3 separate regions of the Homo sapiens genome follow, and regions 1 and 3 are each linked to region 2. Evidence: promoter capture Hi-C in human tissues and cell types (Jung and others, 2019). All regions are on one chromosome and are shown on one strand. The core of a region is centred on a gene start or on the middle of the fragment in contact, and the rest is flanking DNA. Distances in the headings are between cores, read along the strand shown. Region 1 has its middle 7.2 kb from the start of ZNF441. Region 2 holds the start of EPOR (erythropoietin receptor). Region 3 overlaps CARM1 (coactivator associated arginine methyltransferase 1).

Evidence for each region. The method cuts DNA at HindIII sites, captures the fragments that hold promoters and counts their contacts. A contact is called where the count stands out against the background at its distance.
Region 1: a contact is called between a fragment that was not itself captured here and the fragment with the promoter of EPOR in region 2, in 1 of the 25 tissues and cell types used here (heart right ventricle).
Region 3: a fragment that was not itself captured here is called in contact with the fragment with the promoter of EPOR in region 2 in 1 of the 25 tissues and cell types used here (spleen).

What each region holds. Positions count from the first base shown.
Region 1 is chr19:11,757,581-11,761,968 of GRCh38, forward strand. No RefSeq gene overlaps it. Among named protein-coding and RNA genes, the nearest start is that of ZNF441, 7.2 kb to the right of the region's middle. The HindIII fragment of the contact is 5,499 bases long and covers 1-4,388 here.
Region 2 is chr19:11,381,931-11,385,914 of GRCh38, forward strand. It overlaps EPOR (erythropoietin receptor), which reads right to left and starts at 2,384. Exons shown (of 8, transcript NM_000121.4): 1 at 2,163-2,384; 2 at 1,167-1,302; 3 at 1-175. The coding sequence starts at 2,277. RefSeq lists enhancers at 1-24, 11-70, 81-170 and a silencer at 1,624-1,683. The HindIII fragment of the contact is 19,405 bases long and covers 1-3,984 here.
Region 3 is chr19:10,897,992-10,902,101 of GRCh38, forward strand. All of the region lies in intron 1 of CARM1 (coactivator associated arginine methyltransferase 1), which reads left to right. Among named protein-coding and RNA genes, the nearest start is that of CARM1, 28 kb to the left of the region's middle. RefSeq lists an enhancer at 1,254-1,871. The HindIII fragment of the contact is 8,039 bases long and covers 1-4,110 here.

The DNA of each region.
Region 1 (4,388 bases), core at 961-3,460, 380 kb after region 2:
AGCATGAGCTCTATGGTAGCAATTAAGATGAACGACCCATGCTGACTTCTCCACACACACTGCTTTCACGTGGTTTTGCTCAAGGGAGACTTTTTTTTTTTTTTGAGACGGAGTTTCATTCTTGTTGCCCAGGCTGGAGTGCAATGGCTGATCTTGGCTCACTGCAACCTCTGCTTCCCAGGTTCAAGGGATTCTCCTGCCTCAGCCTCCCGAGTAGCTGGGATTACAGGCATTGTGCCACCACGCCCGGCTAATTTTGTATTTTTAGTAGAGACGGGGTTTCTCCATGTTGGTCAGGCTGGTCTCGAACTCCCAATCTCAGGTAATCTGCCTGCCTCAGCCTCTCAAAGTGCTGGGATTACAGGCGTGAGCCACCGAGCCCGGCCTCAAGGGAGATTTTTGTTGTTCACAATACCACCTGGAATGTGGCTGAAAGTTTCTCCAAATTATCTACCTCCTTTACTTTTACAGAATCAGTCTACCATATGATATCTGTAAAAACAGAGAAGTACAATTACTACAGGTTTGTTTATAAGTGTTTTTTATATATATTAATAGGTCTTAAATTTACATTGTTGACATTATCATGCAAAGCTTAGGTGTCATGCCCTGTTTGAACATGAACGGACTGAATGCTGTGCAAGATAACTCAACTGTGGCTATCATCGGAACAGTAATATTCACGTGGGAATTCTTAGTACTGTTTTCCAAGGAAATTATTTTGCAGACACACTTAACAGCTATGTCCCATTTAAGTATGTTTTTGAAGAAAATTTTCTAAGAGTGAATAAATTTAAGCCAGGATTATTCTTTTTTATTTATTTATTTATTTATTTATTTTGCTTGTTTTAAAATTTTCCTGTCTTTTTTTTTAGACGGAGTCTTGCACTTTCGCCTGAGCTGGAGTGCAATGGCATGATCTCGACTGACTGCAACGTCCTCCTCCCGGGTACATGCGATTCTCCTGCCTCAGCCTCCTAAGTAGCTGGGACTACAGGTTCACACCACCACGCCTGGCTAATTTTTTGTATCTTTAGTAGAGACAGGGTTTCACTATGTTGGCCAGACTGGTCTCGAATTCCCGACCTCCTGAACTGCGCCCCACCCCCCCACCCTTTCAAAGTGCTGGAATTATAGGTGTGAAAAATTTCCTGTCACTTTAAGAATTATTCCAAAGACATATCTTTCTCTTCCTAGGGCAAATTACCTTAGATTTCTTCTGGGAATTTTGTACTAATCTTTAATGTTTTGGTCTTCCCATTTCATTCCTAAAATGTAGACCCAGAAGAATCACTATATATTATTATAAAATTACATTGAGGCCGGGGGCGGTGGTTCACGCATGTAATCCTAGCACTTTGGGAGGCCGAGGTGGGTGGATCGTCTGAGCTCAGGAGTTCGAGACAAGCTTGGGCAACACAGTGAAACCCCGTCTCTACTAAAAAATACAAAAAAATATTAGCCGGGCATGGCGGCGTGCGCCTGTAGTCCCAGCTACTCGGGAGGCTGAGGCAGGAGAATCAGTTGAACCCAGGAGGCAGAAGCTGCAGTGAGCCAAGATCGTGCCACTACACTCCAGCCTGGGTGACAGAGCAAGACTCCATCTCAAAAAAAAAATAATAATAAATAAAAATAAAATTATATTAAAAATGTAAGATTTTATGTAGACTGCAGTTATGGATGATTTATTCACCAAACCACAGTTGACTCTTCAACAACACAGGTTTGAACTGCATAGATCTCCTTACATACAAATTTTCTTCAGTTTCTGCTACTACTGAGACAGCAAGACCAACCCCTCCTCTTATTCAGCCTACTCAATGTGAAGACAATAAGGATGATAACATTTATGATGCTCCACTTCTACTTAATGAAATAGTAAATATAGTTTTTTCTCCTTGTGATTTTCTGATTAACATTTTTCTCTGCCTTAGTTTATTGTGAGAAAACAATATGTAATGCATATGACATATAAAATATGTGTTAATTGAATGTATATCTTACCAGTAAGGTTTCTGGTCAACAGTAGGCTATTAGTAGTCAAGTTGCGGGGGAGAAAAAAGTTATTTGAAGATTTGTGACTGCATTGAGGGCTGGTGCCCCTAATCCCTGCATTGTTCAAGGGTCAAACGTATTTCTTTTATATTCTAAATCTTTGAACAGCATTGGTGACGAAGAAACAAATATTCGTAATTGACTAAGTAAAGACATGATGTCCCCCTTACCTATACAGTCTAGGTTCCTGATGGTTTCCCGTAGCACATCTCTGTAGAGACTCTTCTATGATGGACCCAGCAAAGCCCACTCCTCCCAGGCAAAAGATCAAAGCCACATCCTCAAAGGCCACTGAGTCCTGAAACACCCGACACGTGCAGAGGAGGAAAGCTGAAACTGACAGCACTGGGAATCTGTACTCACTACATAAATGTCACATGATGCTGTGGTGTCCAAACATTTATGCAACGACACGGTAATCCAACTCTTACCCTCTTTCTAAACTCATTTTCTCCCAGAATGCAATTCTAATGCTAGAATTAAACGTGTTTGGTAAAATAACAGTCGAATTATAAAATGCCACTCCTTGGTGAGTTAAAGGAGTGACATTTATTGCCTAGATCACCCCTAATATCTATGTGTACAGGATGTTTGTAATTCCTGATGTGACAAAGTCCTCCTACCTAATGGGCAGAAGAGTTAACATCAGCTGTCCTGAGACCGCATATTGTTACAAATGCTTGCTCACAAAGTTGAACCTTTCACTATATCTAGGAACTAAATTTAGTTAGGGGGCTTCACCAACATAAGCGATAATGGAGGATGAGTGTCCCTAAACTATGTAAAAAATATGGTATCTGCTGAACTCCTATGTTCCCTCTGAGAGTTCAAACTTTTGTGATATGCTTGGCAGAGGGAGCATACCTGATCATTCACTACTAGGTTTTTTGCTTGTTTTTGTTTTTGTTTTTGTTTTTTTTGAGACAGAGTCTTGCTCTGTCTCCAGGCTGGAGTGCAGTGGCGCAATCTCGGCTCACTGCAACCTCCGCCTCCTGGGTTCAAGCGATTCTCCTGCCTCAGCCTCCCGAGTGGCTGGGATTACAGGCGCACACCACCATGCCCAGCTAATTTTTGTATTTTTAGTAGAGACAGGGTTTCACCATGTTGGCTAGGATGGTCTCGATCTCTTGACCTCGTGATCCACCCACCTCAGCCTCCCAAAGTGCTGGGATTACAGGAGTGAGCCACCGCGCCCGGCCATTCACTGCTAGGTTTGAATGTTTGTCCCCTCCAAAATGCTTGTTGAAACATAATCGCCAATGTGGCACTAATGAAAGGTGAGGCCTTTAAGAGGTGAGTAGATCTTAAGGGTTCAGACCTCATAAATAAATTAATCCATTCATGAATTCATGGCTTACTGAATTAATGAGTTATCTCAGGAGTGGGACTGATGGCCATATTAAAAAAGAAGGGAACCTGAGCTACCACATTCAGCCCATTCTCCATGTGATACCTTCAACCACCTAGAAACTCTGCACAGCCCCCATGACCAAGAAGGCTTTCACCACATGAAGCCCTCTTACTTGCTAGGTTCCAGAACTATAATAAATAATTTTTTTTGTTGTTTTTTGGCTTTTCTTTTTAGATGGACTCTTGCTTTGTTGCCCAGATGGGAGTGCAGTGGCACGATCTCGGCTCACTGCAACCTCTGCCTCCTCCTGGGTTCAAGCAATTCTCCTGTCTCAGCTTCCTTAGTAACTGGGACTACAGGTACATGCTACCACACTTGGATAATTTTTGTATTTTTAATAGAGACAGGGTTTCACTATGTTGGCCAGGCTGGAAGAAATATTGTTTTTTAAATAAATTACTCAGCTTCTACTATTCTGTTATAAGCAACAGAAAACATACTAGGATAAGCATGAAAAAACCACTCACCACTGGGTCTCTTATGAGCTTTTTTTGGTAGATAACATTTCCCACATTTTGTCACAACTTGTTACTTAAAGGATAAAGCCCATCCAATCTGAACACATTATAGGAGACTATTTGGAAGGTGGCATCTGCTTTCCTCTAGACCAAATTCAGTTAAGTATGACAAAAGACTAATGAAAGATGTCTCACTATCCCAATGGGAAACTTACGCTTTTTATTGGGTAATAACAAAGGATAATAAAGAAGGAAAAAGATTGCACATGTTCACTCCTGTAATCCCAACACTTTGGGAGGCTGAGGCGAGTGAATCACCTGAGGTTGGGAGTTCAAGACCAGCCTGAACAACATGGAGAAACCCCATATCTACTAAAAATACAAAAAATTAGCCGGGCATGGTGGTGCATGCCTGTAATCCCAGTTACTCGGGAGGCTGAGATAGGAGATTCGCTTGAAGAACC
Region 2 (3,984 bases), core at 1,134-3,633:
TACTTCATTGATGTGGATGACACGGTGATATCGCGGAGCGCCGGAGGCTGCTGTGACGCGCAACTCTAGGGGCACGAAGCTCGACGTGTCGGCTGTAGGCAGCGAACACCAGAAGCGCACCGCACCACGAGCCGTGGGAGCCTGGTGCAGGCGACACAGCTTCCATGGCTCATCCCTATGCGCCCAGGGAAGGGAGCAGGTTGGGAGGGGGGACCGGGGAGTTGGCATTGCCCGGCCTGTGGGGGGCAGTGTGTATGTGTGACACAAGGTCTAGCCTTGTGTGTGTGTGTGACAAGGTGTTCCTTCGTCGCCCAGGCTGGAGTGCAGTGGCGCGATCATGGCTCACTGCAGCCTCAAATTCTGGGGCTTAAGGGATCCTCCCACCTCAGCTTCCCAAGTAGTTGAGACCACAGGCACGCGCCACGCCTGGCTTTTTTTTTTTTTTTTTTTGAGACGGAGTTTCGCTCTTGTTGCCCAGGCTGGAGTGCAATGGCGCTACCTCGGCTCACCGCAACCTCCGCCTCCCGGGTTCAAGCGATTCTCCTGCCTCAGCCTCCCGAGTAGCTGGGATCACAGGCATGCGCCACCACGCCCGGCTAATTTTGTATTTTTAGTAGAGATAGAGTTTCTCCATGTTGGCCAGGCTGGTCTCAAACTCCCGACCTCAGGTGATCCGCCCGCCTCAGCCTCCCAAAGTGCTGGGATTACAGGCGTGAGCCACCGCGCCCAGTCTAATTTTTTTTTAAGAGACGGGGATCTCGCTGTGTTGCCCAGGCTGGTCTTGAACTCCTGGGCTCAAGCGGTTCTTCCGCCTCGACCTTCCAAAGAGTTGGGATTACAGGCATGAGCCACTGCTGGCCTCCTTTTGGATACTACCTCGAGAAGGCGTCCCAGCCCCGACGTAGTAACGCCTTACCCTCGATTTGGAGGCGTTGTTATCCCAGCCTGATGTTTGGGGTCGCGTTCCAGCGGTGATCGCGGGAGTGTTCGCGCCCCGGCCCATAGAGGGCGTGCCAGCCCTGGACCCGCAGGTTTCCCTCCAGTGACCACGACTGGAGGCGCCGTCGGGCCTCAAACAGCAGGGGACATACGAGGCTACGACCTCCAGGGAGCTCTGCCCCACCCCCTCCCTCCGCCCTTGGAGGCACCCGCCGGATCGGACTCACTCGAGCTGGTAGGAGAAGCTGTAGTTGCCCGGGCCCACCCCAGCGCTCGCCGCTTCCTCCCAGAAACACACCAAGTCCTCCAACCGCTCGGTGAAGCACAGAAGCTCTTCGGGCCCCCGGGCCGCCAGCAAGGCCGCTGGGGAGGGGCGACAAAGGAAGGGCATGGGGGTCTGAGCTCTATCCTCGGGAGACAGCCCCCTCCTCTTCCCTCCCGCAGCCTGGGCGGACCCGATAAGAAAAAAGCCCCGCCCTGCCATCTTCCCAAGCGGGTCCCTTGGAGGGGTCCGCAGAGGTGGTGCCCCCCTAATTCCCAGGGGCAAGTTTCTCGCCTTACTGTCCCCCGCCGTCACCACTGGCGCACACCTGCCCACCCAGCGGCCAGCTGAGCTGGGCGCGGCGTTCAAGACCTCGAGCTCGGGACTGCCAGCCCCGCCCCAGCCTAGGACACGCGCGCGGCTGGGGGTGTGTGCGGAGAGGCGGGCCCCCTATCGGCCCCGGCAGGCTCCCCGCCAACCGATAGCGCCAACCGTGCCCCCCGCCTCCCTCCCTCCACCGGGCCGGGCAAGTGATCTGGCGCCCTCACACAAACCGTGTTTACAGTAGCCTGTGGCTTGGCCCCTCTAACTCGGACCCGGGCTTTACCCTCCCTCCCCTAGGGAGGGTCGGCTTGGTCCCCACCCCCCAGGGACCTTAGCACCAAGTCAGCCCCCTTAGGATTTAGCATGTCCCAGACTCCCTGAAAAGGTAAAACGGGAATGTTAAGCCCACTCTAGCTCTTGCCCGGGACGCGATCAGGAGTCTTGGATCCTAACATACCCCACCCCGCCCCCCACCCATCCAGGACCCAGTCTAAGGGTTCAGATGCCAGCTTGGCCCCCAGGACCCGGTCAGGAAGTCCAGAAACAGGCATGGCCCCCAGGACCTAGGCTGGGAGTTCAGGCCCCAGCATGGTCCTGCAGGCTCCAGCGTAGGGGTCCACACGCAGCTCATCCTTACCTTTGCTCTCGAACTTGGGGTCCGGGAGGTTAGGCGGGGGCGCCCAGGCGGCCCCAGCGAGCAGGAGACAAAGGGAGCCGACCTGGGGCCAGAGGGACGCCCCGAGGTGGTCCATGATACAGCCCCCGCCACGGGGAGCCCAGGGCTCCTGCCCCTCCGTCCCCCGCCCCCGGCACAGTCCACAGCTGGGTCAGCAGCTGCCTCCGCCGGACGCAGCTGACCAGGCCCTTCCCGACCAGGCGCCTCTAAGTGGCAGATCCCCGAGGGGGCGGGGCCAGCACTCAGCCTGGGTAGAGATAAGTGCCTGGCGGGAGGAGGCAGGGGCCCTTCCCGAGCCCAGAGGCCGCTTGGGGGCAGGGGAGGGAGTTGGGCCGCAACAGCTCCCGTTCTGGCTTCAGACACACGTTTTTTTTTTCTTTGTGGCCCTGGACAGGTGACTTACCTTACCTGAGCTTCAGACTTCTCATCTGTAAAATCTAGCCTGGCACATAGCGAACATTCCAAAAAATGTACCTACTGATTTTATCGCAGAAATCAGCATCTCTTCCCAGCCTGGAAATAAATAAAAATTATTTTCTCTCTCTCTCTCTCTCTCTCTCTCTCTCTCTCTCCTTTCCTTCCTTCCTTCCTTCCTTCCTTCCTTCCTTCCTTCCTTCCTTCCTTCCCTCCTTCCCTCCTTCCCCCTCTCTCTCTCTGTCTCAGGGTGTTGCTCTGTCACCCAGGCTGGAGTGCAGTGGCACAATCATAGCTCACTGCAGCCTCTGGACTGAAGCAATCTTCCCACTGCACCTGGCTAATTTTTAAAATTCTTTGTAGAGATGGGATCCCACTATGTTGTCCAGGCTGGTCTTGAAATCCCGGACTTAAGCAATCCTCCAGCCTCCATCTCCCAATGTGCTGGGAATACCAGCACGAGCCACTGAAGCCGGCCAATAATAATCCTTGCAACGACCAGCAGTTGAGTGTTTGCACAGTGCTAGGCCATGCTCCTGGGCAGTATGCATAATATGTGAGATTTTCATTTACGAATTTTTGGGAAAAAAATTTTTACCACCCACATTTTTATTCTCTTGGGCTGGGCCCGGTGGCTCACGCCTATAATCCCAGCACTTTGGGAGGCCGACGTGGGCAAATCACTTGAGGTCAGGAGTTTGAGACCAGCCTGGCCAACATGGTGAAATCCCATCTCTACTAAAAATACAAAAATTAGCCAGGTGTGGTGGCGTGTGCCTGTAATCCCAGCTACTCAGGAGGCTGAGGCATGAGAACTGCTTCAGTCTGGGAGATGAAGATTGCAGTGAGCCAAGATCATGCCACTGCAACTCCAGCCTGGGCAACAGAGTGAGACTGCATCTCAAAAAATAATAATAATTGGCTGGGCGCGGTGGCTCATACCTGTAATCCCAACACTTTGGGAGGCCGAGACAGGCGGATCATGAGGTCAGGAGTTCGAGACCAGCCTGGGCAACATGGCGAAACCACGTCTCTACTAAAAATACAAAAATTAGCCAGGCGTAGGCCGGGCGCGGTGGCTCACGCCTGTAATCCCAGCACTTTGGGAGGCCGAGGTGGGCAGATCACGAGGTCAAGAGATCAAGACCATCCTGGCCAACATGGTAAAACCCCATCTCTACCAAAAATACAAAAATTAGATGGGCGTGGTGCTGCATGCCTGTAATCCCAGCTACTTGGGAGGCTGCAGGAGAATCGCTTGAACCCAGGAGCCGGAGGTTTCAGTGAGCCGATATTGTGCCACTGCACTCCAGCCTGGTGACAGAGCGGGACTCCGTCTCAAAAAATATATATATATATTCGAGCGTGG
Region 3 (4,110 bases), core at 270-2,769, 480 kb before region 2:
AGCTACTCGGGAGGCTGAGGCAGGAGAATGGCGTGAACCCCAGGGAGTGGAGCCTGCAGTGAGCCAAGATTGCGCCACTGCACTCCAGCCTGGGAGACAGCGAGACTCCGTCTCAAAAAAAAGAAAAAAAAAAAAAGAAACCCTGTCTCTAATAAAAATACAAAAATTAGCCAGGTGTGGTGGTGCATGCCTGTAATCCCAGCTACTCGGGAGGCTGAGACAGGAGAATCGCTGGAACCTGGGAGATGGAGGTTACGGTGAGCTGAGATTTTGCCACTGCACTCCAGTCTAGGCGACAGAGTGAGACTTAGTCTCAAAAAAAAAAGATACCCCAGCTGTGGCCTGGCCTCAATTGGCCTGAACTCACCACGGCCTCCTGGCTCTAGAGTCTGCTTTTTGGTCACCCTTGCCTGCTAGCCCTGCAGCCTGTCCCCCACCTCTCCAGGCCATGTGCACACAGTCCCCAACATGCGCCGGCTGATGCCGCAACAGTGGTGCTTTTTGGATTTGTCTCTAGAGGCCAACACAGAGGGCCTTTCTGAATCCTGGGGTCCTGCCCCCTTCCGCGGCTCCCATACTGCTCCTCCCCAGCTGAATGGCCGCTTTGGGAGGTGGTTGCTGGCCTTGAGAGGATGCCACAGTGAGTTTCCTGCGGGCAGGGCTGCATCTGTGGCGAGCACTGAATCGCCACTGCTGGATCCAGATGCCTGTGCGTCCCGGGCCCCAAGGCTCCCTTCTACCCTCCTCCTGGGGTGCTGTTCGCAAGCCAGGAGACAGGCTGTGCATTCCCTGCCTACTCAGAGGTGACCCTGGGCCAGGTGTGCGATGGCCCACTGGACCCATAGTAGCAGAGGGAGGGGAGAGGAAGGGAGAAAGTGGGAACAGCATGTGCAGAGGCCTGGGGCCTGGCCCATGTAGGGACTAGAGGGTTGAGTGTGTCCATGGGGAGGGGCCAAGACGGGGAGAGCCATGAGGAATGATGGGCACAGAGCTCAGAGGCTCGGGAGTCTCCTGAACAAAGAGAGGAACACGGCTTAGCTTGTTTTTTTTTTTTTTTTTTTTGGTTTGTCAGTATTTCCCAGGTGTCTTCTGTGTGCCAGGGACTAACTTGGGGATAAAGCTGTGACTTTGAGAAGCTGCCGGCTCCGCGGGCTTTAGCAGCTGCTGCTGTGATGAAGCGATCCACTTGCCCTCAGCCCCGGCATCTTTGGCCCAAGCCCAGCCCTAGCCCTGGCTGGGCACAGCCAGGCTTCACTTGGCCACAGGTCCTGTAGTTGCCTGCCTGGCGCCAGGTCAGAGAGGGACGCCTCAGGCAACATCGGGTTGCCAGGCTGCTTGGTAAACAGGCCTCCCTGGGCCCACTTGCTGTCGCCCAGGTGTGGCTAACAGATCGACAGTATCTCCTGCCCCAGGACGGGTATGAGTGTGGGCACCATGCCAAGGTTGGATGTCCCTTCCTGGGACCCACCCACAGCTGGGAGCACTTTATCTTGGGCCTCTGTGGGTGTAGTGAGGCTGTGAGTCTGGGGCAGTGGCCTGCTGACACCCTCCTGGCAGGGCTCAGGAGGTTCCTCCATGCCCTGCCCTCAGGAGGGCGGCACCTGGCTCCTGGGGTGGGAGAGAGTCTGGCAGGACTGGCTGGGTGTGGCCGGGGAGCTGCCCTTCAGGTCTCATATCTGTAGGCCCTCATACCTGGACTCGTCAGTTAGGAACAGTTTTCTTTTTCTTTTTCTTTTTTTTTTTTTTTGAGACGGAGTCTCACTCTGTCGTCCAGGCTGGAGTGCAGTGGTGCCATCTCGGCTCACTGCAACCTCCACCTCCCGGGTTCAAGCGATTCTCCTGCCTCAGCCTCCTGAGTAGCTGGGATTACAGGCACCCGCCATCATGCCTTGCTAATTTTTGTATTTTTAGTAAAGACGGGGTTTTGCCATGTTGGACAGGTGTGTCTCAAACTCCTGGGTTCAAGTGATCCGCCCACCTCCCAAAGTGCTGGAATTACAGGCGTGAGCCACCACGCCTGGCCCATTTTTCATTTTCTATTGAAACAAAATTCACACCTGTAATCCCAGCACTTTGGAGGCCAAGGTGAGAGGATCACTTGAGCCCCAGGAGTTTCAGACTAGCCTGGGCAACATAGTGAGACCCTCATTTCTACAAAAAAATAAACAAAATTAGCCAGGGGTGGTGGCATGTGCGTGAGGTTCCAGCTACCCGGGAGGCTGAGGTGGGAGGATGTCTTGAGCCTGGGAGGTCAAGAGCTGTTGTTTCATAACATGAAATTAGCCCTTTTACAATGTTGCATAACAATCACCTCTATCTACTCCCAAAATATGTTTGTCACCCCAAAAGGAGACCCCACATCCATTAAGCAGTTGCTCCCCATTCCTGCCTTCTCCCAGCTCTCAGCCACCAGCAGTGTGCCTTCTGTGACTATTTCATATAAATAGAATCATTTGTGTCTGGCTTCTTTCGGCATGATGTTTCTGCTATTCATTCATGTTGCAGCATGGCTCAGTGCTTCCTTTATTTTTATGGCTGAATAATGTTTCATTTTATAGATAAGCCATATTTGTTTATCTGTTTGTCAGTTTATGGACATTTGGGTTGTATTTCTATCTTGTGTCTGTCGTGAATAAGTACTGCTGTGAATGCTTGCATACGAGTGTCTGTTGGTTTTTTTTGCTTTGTTTTGTTTTTATTTTTATTTTTTTGAGATGAGTCTGGCTCTGTCGCCCAGGCTGGGGTGCAGTGGCGTGATCTCGGCTCACCGCAAGCTCCGCCTCCCAGGTTCCTGCCATTCTCCTGCCTCAGCCTCCCGAGTAGCTGGGACTACAGGCACCCGTCACCACACCCGGCTAATTTTTTGTATTTTTAGTAGAGACGGGGTTTCACCGTGTTAGCCAGGATGGTCTCGATCTCCTGACCTTGTGATCCACCCGCCTCGGCCCCCCAAAGTGCTGGGATTACAGGTGTGAGCCACTGCACCCGGACTTTTTTTTTTTTTTTCTGAAGCGGAGTCTCACTCTGTTGCCCAAGCTAAAGTGCAGTGGCGCTATCTCAGCTCACTGCAACCTCCACCTCCCTGATTCAAGCAATTCTCCCTGTCTCAGCTTCCTGAGTAGCTGGGACTACAGGCACCCACCATCATGTCTGGCTAATTTTTGTGTTTTTAGTAGAGACGGCATTTTGCCATGTTGACCAGGCTGGTCTTGAACTCCTGACCTCAGGTGATCTGCCTGCCTCGGCCTCCCAAAGTGCTGGGATTACAGGCATGAGCCACTGCACTTGGCCAGCTTTTTGTTTGTTTGTTTGTTTTTGTTTTTGTTTTTTTAAAGAGGTGGAGTCTTGCTATGTTGCCCAGGCTGGAGTGCAGTGGCTGTTCACAGGCAGTCATAGCTAACTGCAACCTTGAGCTCCCGGGCTCAAGCAATCCTTCCACCTCAGCCTCCCGAGTAGCTGGGATCTCAGGCATGCACCACCATGCCCGGCTAATTTTGTTTATTTTTTTGTAGCGATAGAGATGGGGTCTTACTATGTTGCCCAGGCTGACCTTGAACTCCTGGCCTCAAGTTATCCTCCCATCTTGGCCTCCCAAAGTGCTGGGATTACAGGCATGAGCCTGTGCCTGGCCCTGGCTATCTCTTTGTTGTTGAGTTAAAAAAGTTCTTGGCCCAGCCCAGTGGCTCATGCCTGTAATCCCAGCACTTTGAGATGCCGAGGCGGACAGATCACACGAGGCTAGGACTTCAAAACCAGCCTGGCCAACATGACAAAACCCCGTCTCTACCAAAAATACAGAAATTACTGGGTGTGATGATGCATGTCTGTAATCCCAGCTACTCAGGAGGCTGAGGCATAAGAATCGCTTGAACGCAGCTACTCAGGAGGCAGAGGTTGCAGTGAGCCAAGATAGTGCTGCTGCACTCCAGCCTGGGCAACAGATCAAGAATCTGTCTCAAGAAAATATATAGGCCGGGCACAGTGGCTCACCTCTGTAATCCCAGCACTTTGGGACGCCGAGGCAGACAGAGCGCTTGAGCTCAGGAGCTCAAGACCAGCCTGACCAACATGGTGAAACTCCATCTCTACGAAAACTACAAAAATAAGCTG